Regions from separate parts of the Homo sapiens genome. Here region 2 is linked to region 1. Evidence: promoter capture Hi-C in 16 types of primary human blood cells and fetal thymus (Javierre and others, 2016). All regions are on one chromosome and are shown on one strand. The core of a region is centred on a gene start or on the middle of the fragment in contact, and the rest is flanking DNA. Distances in the headings are between cores, read along the strand shown.

What was found. The method cuts DNA at HindIII sites, captures the fragments that hold promoters and counts their contacts. A CHiCAGO score of 5 or more calls a contact.
Region 2: a contact is called between a fragment that was not itself captured here and the fragment with the promoter of MINDY2-DT in region 1, in 1 of 17 cell types (naive CD4 T cells). The highest score is 5.1, in naive CD4 T cells.

The regions. Positions count from the first base shown.
Region 1 is chr15:58,768,675-58,775,110 of GRCh38, reverse strand. It overlaps MINDY2-DT (MINDY2 divergent transcript), which reads left to right and starts at 4,137. Exons shown (of 2, transcript NR_135474.1): 1 at 4,137-4,724; 2 at 6,232-6,436. MINDY2 (MINDY lysine 48 deubiquitinase 2) reads right to left here and starts at 3,809. Exons shown (of 9, transcript NM_001040450.3): 1 at 2,876-3,809. The coding sequence starts at 3,715. RefSeq lists a silencer at 3,855-4,134 and an enhancer at 3,947-4,872. The HindIII fragment of the contact is 12,290 bases long and covers 2,071-6,436 here.
Region 2 is chr15:58,635,062-58,641,497 of GRCh38, reverse strand. It overlaps ADAM10 (ADAM metallopeptidase domain 10), which reads left to right. Exons shown (of 16, transcript NM_001110.4): 8 at 538-721. Among named protein-coding and RNA genes, the nearest start is that of ADAM10, 110 kb to the left of the region's middle. The HindIII fragment of the contact is 197 bases long and covers 2,364-2,560 here.

The DNA.
Region 1 (6,436 bases), core at 2,888-5,387:
GTGAAAAAGGCAAATAACATCTTAGTATTATCATAAAAATAGCTTTGACTTCTAGTACCCCTGGCTCACTTTGAGAATACTGCTCTACTTTGCTTCGCTTATCCATCTCTTCATCAATGATTACTTATGACTGGTTTTTGTGGGCATCAACAGGCTGGAGAAAAAAAACACTGATAACCACAGATTTACAAAATAATCTCCAAATTCATTAGCATGCTTGCTCATTCACAGTCTGATAAAACCCATCAATTTTATGTCCTGCTATTACCACCATTTCGTTTACCTCCTATGCTGCACACTTCAACCAAGGTTGAAGGTTCCAAGTAGAAGAAACCCTTTTCTGCTTCAGTATCTTTCAATACACTATTCTCTTTGCCCAGAAGGTCTTCTCTCACTCATCCTTTGGATCTAGTTCACAGGTTATCTCTTCTATGAAGTCTTCCCTTGATAATCCCCTCCCCAATTACCGTTTTCTCTGCACTTCCATAGCATATTAGAGCTTCTCACATTGCACTGTAATTATTGTTTATATGTCTGTCATCCCACTAGATAGTCAGCTACACGAGGGCAGATTTGCATCATACTCATCTTTGCATTTCCTTTTTTTTTTTTTTTTTTCTTTTTTTGGGACGGGGTTTCACTCTTGTTGCCCAGGCTGGAGTGCAGTGGCGTGATCTCGGCTAACCGCAACCTCCACCTCCTGGGTTCAAGAGATTCTCCTGCCTCAACCTCCCAAGTAGCTGGGATTACAGGTGCCCACCACCATGCCCGTCTAATTTTTTGTATGTTTAGTAGAGACGGGGTTTCACCATGTTGGCCAGGGTGGTCTCGAACTCCTGACCTCAGGTGATCCACCCGCCTCGGCCTCCCGAAATGCTGGGAATACAGGCGTGAGCCACCGCGCCCGGCCTCATCTTTGCATTTCTAGTACCTCACGCACAGTGGGAACCCAAACACTTGATCATTCACTTGAATCTGTCTGAATTGAATGAGTCAGTTTAATATGCATCTATCCCCAAATACTCCACACCACAGTACTTGCCCTTTCCTCTGAATTTCTGCAGTACTACATAAGAAAAAAGACTAAAGGAAAATAATAGTTATTCCTTCCTACAAAAAAGATTAGGGACTCTGGCCCGTTAGAGCAAGTCTAACTAACTCCCTAGTTGAGGGCCCTTATCAAATGGCTCTTGTTCACCTTTTCAACCTTATTTTTCATTATTCTCCAACATTAGCTTACCACTTCTGTCATGTAATAAACATATAAACACACAATATCCATTCTATTTTCATTCCTTTGGTTTATACTCTTCTCTCCCCTGGGAATTCCATTTCCCTGTTATTCTAAATTCTCTTCCTTAAAAGATCTGTTAAATTGCTCTAATTTGTCTTTAAAACAAACAAACAAACGAAAAAAAAAAAGATTGGTTCAAGACCCATAAATCCCATGAAGTTTTCTAGGACTACGCCATACCAAAGGAAAATGTCCCCTTTTTGAATATCAAATGCATTTCCACAGATTTACCACAGTTTACCTACCACTTGTCTCATATAACTTACTATTTCTTGTTCTTAAACAGTTTCCAGTAAGTTAATGATGCCACCTCAAACAGCTTGACAGCCTTTTAAGGGCAGGTACTGTCTTCACTTAAAACATCTCAGTGCCATTATGCACCAGACAATGGCAAGGTTTCTAATTTTATTTCTTTTCTATCAGTCCTTGCTAGCGACAGGAAGATAAAGGCATGTTTGATAAACACTATTCCCTTTACTTGATTTTCTACCTAAGTGTTTAGAAGAATCCAGGTTATTTTTCTTTTTCTTTTAATATAGGGTCTCACTGTATTGCCCAGGCTGGTCTCAAACTTCTGGGCTCAAGCGATTGTCTTGTGTCAGCCTCCAGAGTAGCTGAGCTTACGGAGTAGCTGGGATTACAGGCGCACACCACCACACCCAGTTTGTTTTGTTTTTTTTTCCTAGGAAACATTGCATCTACAGATATAATTATCAATTTGAAAATAAAATAGGTGCTGTGAGATGCATCTTCTCAGCACCCTAACACTGCAAGCTTAAATGAGACACTTCATTTGACAGGTAACTCGCTCTGAGTCCTCAACATACCTATTTTTAAGGGTCTTTCCCTTTTTTGCTCCTTCACCTTAGACATACCTTTTCTTATTTTAGTTCTTTAGAGTTTTAGCTCCCTTAACACATTCGGATGCATGGTTACTGGTAATAATGCCAAACCATTTAAGGAGAGCCAAAGAAATGAGGCAAGTAAAAATCATGCATAAAATGAAAACAATCTTTGAAAACCAAGAAGTTACGGTAATTGGGTCTCAGACCAATGCTTTTCCTTAAATGGAATTTGTCTAAAGAGCCACATCTTCCCCATCACCATTCTCTTAAGTATCTACACACAAATGGGGCATTAGTTGGAAATCAAACTAAATATAACCATGAAAACTTAGTCCATGATATCACGGATTGATGGTAACTTCTGAAGATTACTTTCTCCAATTCTTCACTTTTTTGCATATGTGATAAGGTCAGTAAGAAAATGTAGGAAATTATAGTTTAAAATAATCATAAGATTTAAGATGCTCTAAGTCCTTCTTGTTTCTAAGTGTATCAACCACAATTGAATGTTGAACTCTTAAACACTACAAGAGAAGACTGAGGTTAGGGGCAATTCTTTTCGATATATGTATAAAGGAATATTCCTTCAACATGGAAGTCTTGGAATGAATTTCATGTAAGAAGGGGACTGATGAATGAGGAAAGAAAGGAAGCCATCACCTGACATGCAGCAGCTCCCTCACCCCGTTTTCCTCCACCCCAAAAGCTGTAGGAAGTAGAAAGCTGCAGAATGTACCTTCCAGGCCAGGAGCAAAACATTGAGGATGGCCAGCAAGGGGCAGGGTCCGTTCTCATTCTGGGTGATGATGGGTGTGTTCTCTTCCTTCCACTGGATCCACTTGATGTGATACACAGATTGTCCCGGGAAGCGTTCCTTGGAGGCCGCCAGCACCTGAGCGGTCTCCTCCCCCTCCTCCTCCTTGCACAGAGGAACAGCCCCGGGCAACACCGCCGCGCCCTCCTCCTCCTCAGGGACCCTGTTCTCCGCTCCCTCCTCACTATTGAACTCGCAGCTACTGGGAAAAGAATGCAGGTTAGAGAACGACTCCAGAGAGTCCAGGCTCGGAGATTCCCCAGGAGGGCTCGGGTCGCTGCAACTGCTGCTGAGGCCGCCGGCGCTGCTGGGCTCTTCGGAGCCGGCGGCGGTCAGTTCTGCTTGGCAGGTGCCGGCGAGATCCGGGCGGGCTCCCGCGTCTCCGGCGGTACCCAACTCATGACCCACTCCGGCCACGGCTGTCTCCGGGGAGGCGGTCACCTTGTACTGCCCTCTCAGAGGCGCCTCGGCGGCAGCAGGACTCTCCAAACCACTGTCCTTCAAGTCCAAACCCGCGGAGGAGCTGCAGGGTCCGGGAACCTCAGGAGAGCCCGCGGGAGAAGCCGAGTCCGGGAGGCTCCTCCTGGCGGCCGCCGCCCCCAGCCCATTCCCGCCGCTGGTCTCCGCCGCCCATACCCCAGGACCATCACCAGCGGCGAGCCTGGTCTCCTGTAGCCCTTCCTGCGAAGAACCTGTCCCTGACGCTGGCCCGGCCGCCACCCCGTGTTCTAGCGGCTGCAGGCTCTCGGGGCTGCTCTCCATACCGGGCCGCCCGCCCCCAGCTCTATGGAGACCGCGGCCACTTCTCCGCAGCCAGCGCCTTGGACGCCATGACAGCTGTATTGGCAGCAACAGCGCCCTGGCGCGGCCTCGGTCAGGCACGTCACCGGGGAGAGTACTAAGAACGCGCGCGGGCGCGCGCTACCGCTCTGTCCGTGCGCTCTGAGCTTGCCTCCGCCTGACTGCGCGCTGAGAGGCGAAGGCGAACCACTCAGCAGCCGCCCACGTGGCCCAGCCCTTTCCGTGCGTCCGACCGAGCTCGCTCTCGGAAGGCCGGGCGTGGAGGGCGTGGCTAGGAGGGCGCGGCCGGGGGGCGCGCCCCCGCGGCTCAGCTCCAGTAGGAAAACATCCTCTCACTATGTGGCCGGAAGTTGAACTCCCGGGCAGCTCCCTTGTGTGCGGCTTCTTTAAAGGGAAGGCAGGAGGCGGACAGCTTGGCTGTGACCCTTTAGCGCTGGGTCGCGTGTGGCCCACCCTCGGCCTGAGGCATTGTTGGGTGGTTGGAGGTGGTTGTAGTATTTGGAAAAGAACTTGTCCCTGAAGGGCTCAGGGGACTTGGTTTCTCAGCTCCTAATATGGAAAATTAAGGCATTTCTTACGAGATGCAGATTTTAAAGCAGGCATATCTACTCGACGGCTTTGGATTACTGCACTGCACAAATTCCAGTCTCTGTCGGTTTTGGCTGAGAAGAGCTGTGCTTCTCACCAGCTACTGGTGAGACATTCGCCCTACAGGAAAGGGTCGGTATGATTGTGGACATTGACATGCGTAGCAAAAGAAAGTGGCTAATTTGCGCCAATAATAATAAATTAGCTTGTATTTGAATTAGCCAAGTCTTTGCGGTTTTGCTAACTTGGCTTCACTTTGCATGGAGTGGGAAGCGCCTGCTTCTGAAAAGGTGACTTTTTTCCTAATTAGAATGGACTCCTCTTAAGGCCATGCAGTTTTCAAAGAAGAAAGACAAGCTGGACGTTTTGTTAGTAACAAAATGTATGTGGGTCCTATTCTAACTTGTTACAGAAAAGGGCTTTTTCCCCCATCTTTTTTCTTTCAACATTTTCTAGGCTGTTGGGGATAAAAAATTAACGAGACAGGTCTTCCTTCGCAGACATATAAATACCTGATACATAATTAGAATGTGATATTTTTGCACCTCTGTTGGTTAGAGAAGGCAGACAAGATTGCAAAGTAGTATTTCATTCATTCCTTTAATACATTTTAGTACCAAGTAAGTTGCTGGATGCTGTCTGTCACTGGAGATGCCATAGTGGATCACGGAGCTTATATCTTCATGGAGCTTACTGTCTTTTTTTTTCTTATTGCTATTTTTTAATACATACTTATATGTTTTTTTGTTTTTGTTTTTGCTTTTGTTTTTTTTTTTTTTTGAAACGGAGTCTCTCTCTGTCGCCCAGGCTGGAGTGCAGTGGCACGATCTTGGCTCACTGCAACCTCCGCCTCCCGGGTTCAAGCGATTCTCCTGCCTCAGCCTCCCGAGTAGCTGGGACTATAGGCGCCCGCCACCATGCCTGGCTAATTTGTTGTTGTTGTTGTTTTTGAGACGGAGTCTTGCTCTGTCGCCCAGGCTGGCGTGCAGTGGCGCGATCTCGGCTCACTGCAAGCTCCGCCTCCCGGGTTCACGCCATTCTCCTGCCTCAGCCTCCTGAGTAGCTGGGACTACAGGCGCCCGCCACCACGCCCAGCTAACTTTTTGTATTTTTAGTAGAGACGGGGTTTCACCGTGTTAGCCAGGATGGTCTTGATCTCCTGACCTCGTGATCTGCCCACCTCGGCCCCCAAAGTGCTAGGATTACAGGCGTGAGCCACCATGCCCGGCCACACATAATATGTATTACATATAATACATGAATGTTGGATACTTATATTCTTGTTTACCTGAGAATGCAGAAGACTGTGCCCCTTTTTTTTTTTTTTTTTTTTTTTTTCCCACTTGAGACGCAGTCTCGCTTTGTCACCCAGGCTATAGTACAGTGGCGCCATCTCAGCTCATTGCAACCTCCACCTCCCGGGTTCAAGTGATTCTCCTGCCTCAGCCTCCCAAGTAGCTGGGACTACAGGCGCACGCCACCAGGTCCAGCTAATTTTTTTTGTATTTTTAGTAAAGACGAGGTTTCACTACCTTGGCCAGGCTGGTCTCTAACTTCTGACCTTGTGATCCGCATTGACATGATACTATGGTATATGTCCAACTGTAGGGTCCAGCCTTACGGGGCTTAGCGGGTGTTCTCCCCGTGTTCAGAGACGAGAGATTGTAATAAATAAAGACACAAGACAGAGAGATAAAGAGAAAACAGCTAGGCCCGGCGGACCGCTACCGTAAAGATGCGGAGACCGGTAGTGGCCCCGAACGGCTGGGCTCGCTGATATTTATTGCATACAAGACAAGGGGGCAGGGTAAGGAGGGTGAATCTTTTAAGTGATTGACAAGATGAAGCAAGTCACGTGATTACAGGATGGCGGGGGCCTTCTCTTTTAGGTAGCTGAAGCAGAGAGAGAAGGCAGCATACGTCAGCATTTTCTTCTCTGCACTTACAAGAAAGATCAAAGACTTTAAGACTTTCACTGTTTCTTCTACCGCTATCTACTACGAGCTTCAAAGAGGAACCAGGAGTATGGGAGGAGCATGAAAGTGGACAAGGAACGTGACCATTGAAGCACAGCACCACAGGGAGGGATTTAGG
Region 2 (6,436 bases), core at 1,213-3,712, 130 kb after region 1:
GTTAGTTTGGCTTGGCTCATGTGACTCTCTAGGCAAGGAAAACCAGGAAAATGATTTGTCTGCTGAACTGACAGTCTTGGGTTTGATACCTATTTTATATTCTAGTAATTAGTTAAAATACAGGGTTTTATATCCTTGTAAGTGTCACCATATGTAGGAGATTAGGACTAAAGGAGACTTGTTCAGAGAATTAAATTTGAAAAACTATACTTCCTTTACTAAAGGTTTTGAAAGCAAAACTTGTTTTTTCTTCCCAAGTGTTCAGTGTTCAGGAATCTGGTGAATACTTGCTCAGAAATTTAACATCTTCAATTTTAATTTCCCTACCTAGCCTTTCTTTTTTATTTGTTGTTATTGTTTTGCCTTCTGTGATCAGCTCAGGGATGTGGGCAGTGGGAACAACCTTAGAAGCCTTAATTCAGGCCTGATTTCCATGGGAGCATATTGTCCAGGTGTACGCAGAAGAAGGTGAGCAGACATTCACACTAAAGCTCTGCTAACATTAATTACTTACTAAATTATTGTTTTGGATTTTAGATCAATACAACTGCTGATGAGAAGGACCCTACAAATCCTTTCCGTTTCCCAAATATTGGTGTGGAGAAGTTTCTGGAATTGAATTCTGAGCAGAATCATGATGACTACTGTTTGGCCTATGTCTTCACAGACCGAGATTTTGATGATGGCGTACTTGGTCTGGCTTGGGTTGGAGCACCTTCAGGTAGTTTATCATATTAAATATGTCTTAACTTACTACTTGAAACAAAGGGGAGTTTTCAGAGAATGTTGAATTTTCAAAGTATAGGAGAAAGTGATGCCTGTATAATATCCTAATTTATGCTACTTGAGTTAGGCAAGACTCATAAGCATAATGTAAAAGCCACAATAGATGAAGGAGCTTTTTATTTTGAAACGCATACAGGGAAATATCCTGATTCCTGACATTTGAATGGACCAAATGAAATAAATAATTTTATGAGAAAAAGTGGTAATTCTGAAACCCAAAGGGAAATTTAATTTTTCCACAAAAGTTAATAAATGTTATATATTTATTAACTTTTTTCCCCTCCAAAATAGGGTACTTAGAATCAAAAGAGGAAAACTGTGTCTTGCTCTCTCTTCTGTAGTGAGATAAAGAGGAGAGAAATCCTCATCAAGAGTGGCAGGTAAAAGGAAAAGAAAGCCTGCCTTTATTATTTTATTTCTAGCCTTTATTTTAATAAAAGGGAAGCACTGCATGAAAGAGATGTAGGCAGGAAGCCCCTGGTACCCACAACTCCATTGACATCATCACCTGGGTTCATACTCTGCCGAGTCTCTGCCTTAGCCATGAAAGCTATTGTCATTGATAATGTTGGGATGGGACAATACCCTTCCCATTACAGTGGGGGTGGAGTGTTGTGGAGGAGCTGTGATTTACTGTATAAGTTCAGTTGCCTAGTTTAGAAATCCAAATTTATTAATTGAAAGATGAGTGGAAAGGACCCCAGGCTCTTTGAATATAAATTGTGCCAAGTAGAGTTTAATCAATAGTATATTATCTTCTGAGCTATATACAACAGATTCTCCTTCTGATACTTCATTTCTATGTTTTTTTTTTTAAAAAAAACTTCTGCTTTATCCAGAGTAAGAGAAGCTTTTGTATTCCTATTCTTATTAGTTTATTCTTTGATTTGTTTTGTATATTTTAAGATCTTAAGTAGTGCTGTATTTTCCTTTGTATTTCTTTCTCCTTTTTTAAAAGTCAGTATCTTAAGTCAATACTTTTACAATTTCCATAGCTTCTTTTGTTTTTCTTCTATGTTTTAAAATGTACTCAATTTCATGATGTCATTTTAAAGTATAAGTTTATGTCATGGGCTGCATATTAATAGTGCAGTACTTTTGGATATTTGTCTTTTATGATAATCTGTACTTTTTTGTTACTTGGATTAGTCAGCAGATTGTACAGCTCACTCTTTCCTATGATTTTTCATGTTCGAAACTTTCATACTCTGAAACCTCTTTGCCCCTTCAATGGTTGGATGATTTTATCACAAAGTCTGTGATTTCTTCTCCCTATTCATTAGTAAGTACTACTAAAAACTCAGGGTCTCATATGATTTTATTTGTATATTATCCATTAATACAGTAGCTGTGAAGTCTCAAACAAGTGGTTCTCCAAGTGTGATCCATGGACTAGCACCATCAGCATCACCTAGGAACTTGTTAGAAATATAAGTTCATAGGCACTACCCCGGTCTCTTGAATCAGAAACTATAGATGTGGAGCCCAACAGTCTTAGTTTGAACAAGTTCTCAAAGTGATTCTGATGCACAGTGAAGTTTGAGAAGCACCACATTAATATTTTTGTCTCTAAAGCTTGCTCACAAAATGCCTCCTGGGTAAGTGAGTATGTGATCTTAAACTAAAAACTTTCTGCCATTTTGCATTTTCAGTTACAGACTATTGTACTTAAGGATGTAATGATTCTGTAGGAATTTGGTAAAATTCTTCCTAAATCTTCAGATATTCTCATGTCTTTAGATTCAGCTACTCATTTTGTTGTAAAAAGTAAGCTTTATTTTTTAGAGCAGTTTTAGATTTACAAAAAATTGAACAGATTAGGTATTCTCAAATCTCCTTCCTCCCTCCCCTGACAGTTTTGAGGAGTACTGATGAGGTATATTTTAGAATGCTCCCCTATTTGGAATCTGTCTGATGTTTTCCTTATGATTAAACTGTAGTTATGGGTTTTTGGGACACTCAGTGTTTATGTCTCATTGTTTGTGATATTTGGATCACCATTTGTGATGCTGCTCATTTTCCTGAGGTGGGGAGAGTTCTGGATTGAAAATGGTGGGGCATGTTACTTGTATTTTCTTTTTTTTTTTTTTTTTTTTTGAGACAGAGTGTTGCTCTGTCACCCAGGCTGGAGTGCAGTGGCGCGATCTCCGCTCACTGCAACCTCCACCTCCCGGGTTCACGCCATTCTCCTGCCTCAGCCTCCCGAGTAGCTGGGTCTACAGGCGCCCGCCACCATGCGTGGCTAATTTTTTATATTTTTAGTGGAGATGGGGTTTCACCGTGTTAGCCAGGATGGTCTCAATCTCCTGACCTCGTGATCCGCCCGCCTCTATTTTCATTATTAGGGTCTTCTTAAAGGTGAAACAAGATACTTCCTGTGTACTTCATGAGCAAAAATATGGTGATTGGCAACCAGAATAGAAAACGAAGACTCCCGTTGTCAACTTTGTATCCCCATTTTCCCCCCCTCTGCTTTTTTTCCTTTTATATTATTATCTCTCTTTCTTTCAGACATTAGATGTCCGCTTCCATTACTCTATGTTAAACCCCCAACTTCAGCTCTTGGAAGCCATCTTCTAAGAGCTGCTGGGGAGGGGCTAGGCAGGCACAGAAGAATAGAGGCCATAGTGGGAAAGAAAAGGGATCTTTGTTCCTTTGGTCCAACTTTTTCGAGTGTAGGTTACCTGCCTTGAAATAACACTGCCAGCTTCTTCACTTGTCTTTGCACTTACTACTAGCTGAACTGAGTTTCATATTTGACATTTTTTTTTTTAAAACAAGGAATGTTATATATTTATTCTTGATTATTTCAATACCCTTATGAGGTGTAGGTATTATTGTCTCCCTTCTACAGATGAGGAAACTTGTGTTCAGAAACTTTGTGACCAACCTAATACCACACAGCTAGAGGTGGAACAGGATCTGGAATCTGGACCTTTTGACTCCAGATTCAGTTCATTTGGTAATTATATTACTAGGTATTTTATATATATATAAATACAATCTACACACACACACACAGTAACATCTTAGCCTTTTCTTTGATGTTTCAAATAAGAAGCTGAAATGTTTTCTGCTTCTTAGTAGAGGTTATACATTGGTGGAATCTGTTTTCTTCTTTCTTGAGAGAGAAGAGTTATAAAATCATACTAAGCTATAATATTTTGATATAATTTTGGGTAATTGTCATGGCATAATGGGAAGAGCAATGGACTGAGAGCTGGGAGACAGGATTCTTGTGTGTTTTCTGTCTGTAAATTCAGGAAAATCATTTTGCTTCTGGCTGTTTTTTCATTGTAGTTCTGTCTTTGCCCTTCTTTTGAGTCTTCATGTTTCTACCTATAGGTCTTATCAGTTAACTGAATGAACATAGTCTCAGTTCGGCTTGGTCGTTGAATGAGGCTGGCTTTGGAATTCATCTCTACAGTTAGTCCTGAAACCTTCAGTACTCCTCTATTTGTGAAGAACATCTTTTGAGGCATTTCATTTGGTAGAAATAGTCTCTTCTGTTTTCTTTAGATTAGATGTTTTAGTTTGATATTACATATTAAAATTTGAGAGCGTACAGAACTTAACACAGGGTTCTCGGGATAACCCACAGCTTATTGAATTCTTAACCCATAGTTTAAAAGTATAACTTCAAATGCTGGGAAAATTACATCATTGAAATATTGCAATAGGACACTTGCTATTGGCATTTAATGCTTGTCTGGATCCCTTGGATATTTAACATCTTTGATCCCTACCCATTGCATGTGAGTAGTGCTCTCCAGACTTGAAAGCCAAATGCCTGTGCTCTCACATTTCCTGGTATCACTTGTGGGAGTATTACTATGGTCTGGTCCAGAATTATTGCTTACATTAATATTGTATGATCAGCATGCTACTATTAATTTTTGGCCTCCTCACATCAAAACTGTATTTATGGAATATGTCAAGGTATCATATTACTCTTGTATTTTTTTCTAAGACTTTTTTTTGGGGGGTGGGGTGGAGTGGGTCTGTTTTGAAGTTTAGGACAGATACTCTAACTTTAGCTCTCAAACTATCCTGTAGATAGAAAATTGTCATTATACTTCTTTGTTGCTTATTGAATCCTTCATCAATAATTACTTTTGACCCGAATTGAAAACGTTTCACCCTTCTCATTGTTATTCACAACTTATGTATTTGTCAGTGATAAATATATGTATAGTAAAATCTTAAATTTAAAATATATAGCAATTGAGTTTGAGTTAATGGTTTAGCTGTGGGTATATATGATACCTCATTACTGAGTTTTCTGGCATATCAAAACTAGTTGCAGTATTTAAAAAAATTAAACCATAACTTTCAGAGTTACAAATAGTATTTTATTTCTTCCTGTATAATCAAGTTACTCCAACATATGCTATTAGCCTGCAACAAATATTAAACTTCCTTTTTTTTTTTTTTTGAAACGAAGTCTCGCTCTGTTGCTCAGGCTGGAGTGCAGTGGCATGATCTCTGCTCATGGCAACCCCCGCCTCCTGGGTTCAAATGATTCCCCTGCCTCAGCCTCCTGAGTAGCTGGGATTACATGCATGCACCACCTCGCCTGGCTAATTTTTGTAATTTTAGTAAAGATGAGGTTTCAACATGTTGGTTATGCTGGTCTCCAACTCCTGATCTCAGGTGATCCGCCTGCCGCCGCCACCCAAAGTGTTGGGATTACAGACGTGAGCCACTGCGCCCGGCCATTTTAAACTTTCATATAAGCGATAATCATAAAGACCAAAAGCAGTTGTTTAAGAAGTTAGGCAATATATAAATTACTATATTTCAGAATAGTATATTCTAATTTATGTATACTCTTCTCTTAAATTAGCCAGACCCTAAAAGTGCAGAAAAATGTATATTATCAGAGATTTAAAAATATGCCTATTTACTTTTTTTTTTTTTAACTGATAAAGATTTGAAGTGTGGAGTCTTCTATGCTTAATTCAAGTTTGACAGTACTGCATTGGACCAATTTGCACATGACAAATCTTCACTAAGGCAGGATATTAATTTACTATTTGTTTAAAACTATGCTGTGTGTACAATAATTATTATATACAGAATACTTATTTATATATTTTCTGGTTTCCAGAAATAATGATGTGCTTCTCAGGACTGAGCTCCAAAAGTAGAACTAGCTTGAAGAAAATATATTAAATTCTCACAAATTATTTGGTATTTTCTCTCTACTCAGTTGTCAGTGTAGAAAAGGTATTAAATTTTGAATATCATAAAAGTTCTCAACCCCTTGCTGGGTTAAATTTGCATGTGACTCCAGCTATTTGTCCGGCCTATAGTCTCAGGTCACTCATTTTAATGTGCATATACATCACCTGAGGTGGGCAGAGTTCTGGATTGAAAATGGTGGGGCATGTTATTTGTATTTTCTTTCTTTCTTTCTTTTTTTTTTTTTTTTTTTGAGACAGAGTCTTGCTCTGTCACCCAGGCTGGAGTGCAGTGGCATGATCTCTGCTCACTGCAAGCTCCACTTCCTGGGTTCACGCCATTCTCCTGCCTCAGCCTCCCGAGTAGCTGGGGCTACAGGCACCTGCCACCATGCCCTGCTAATTTTTTGTATTTTTAGCAGAGATGGGGTTTCACCGAGATGTTCTCAATCTCCTGACCTTGTGTT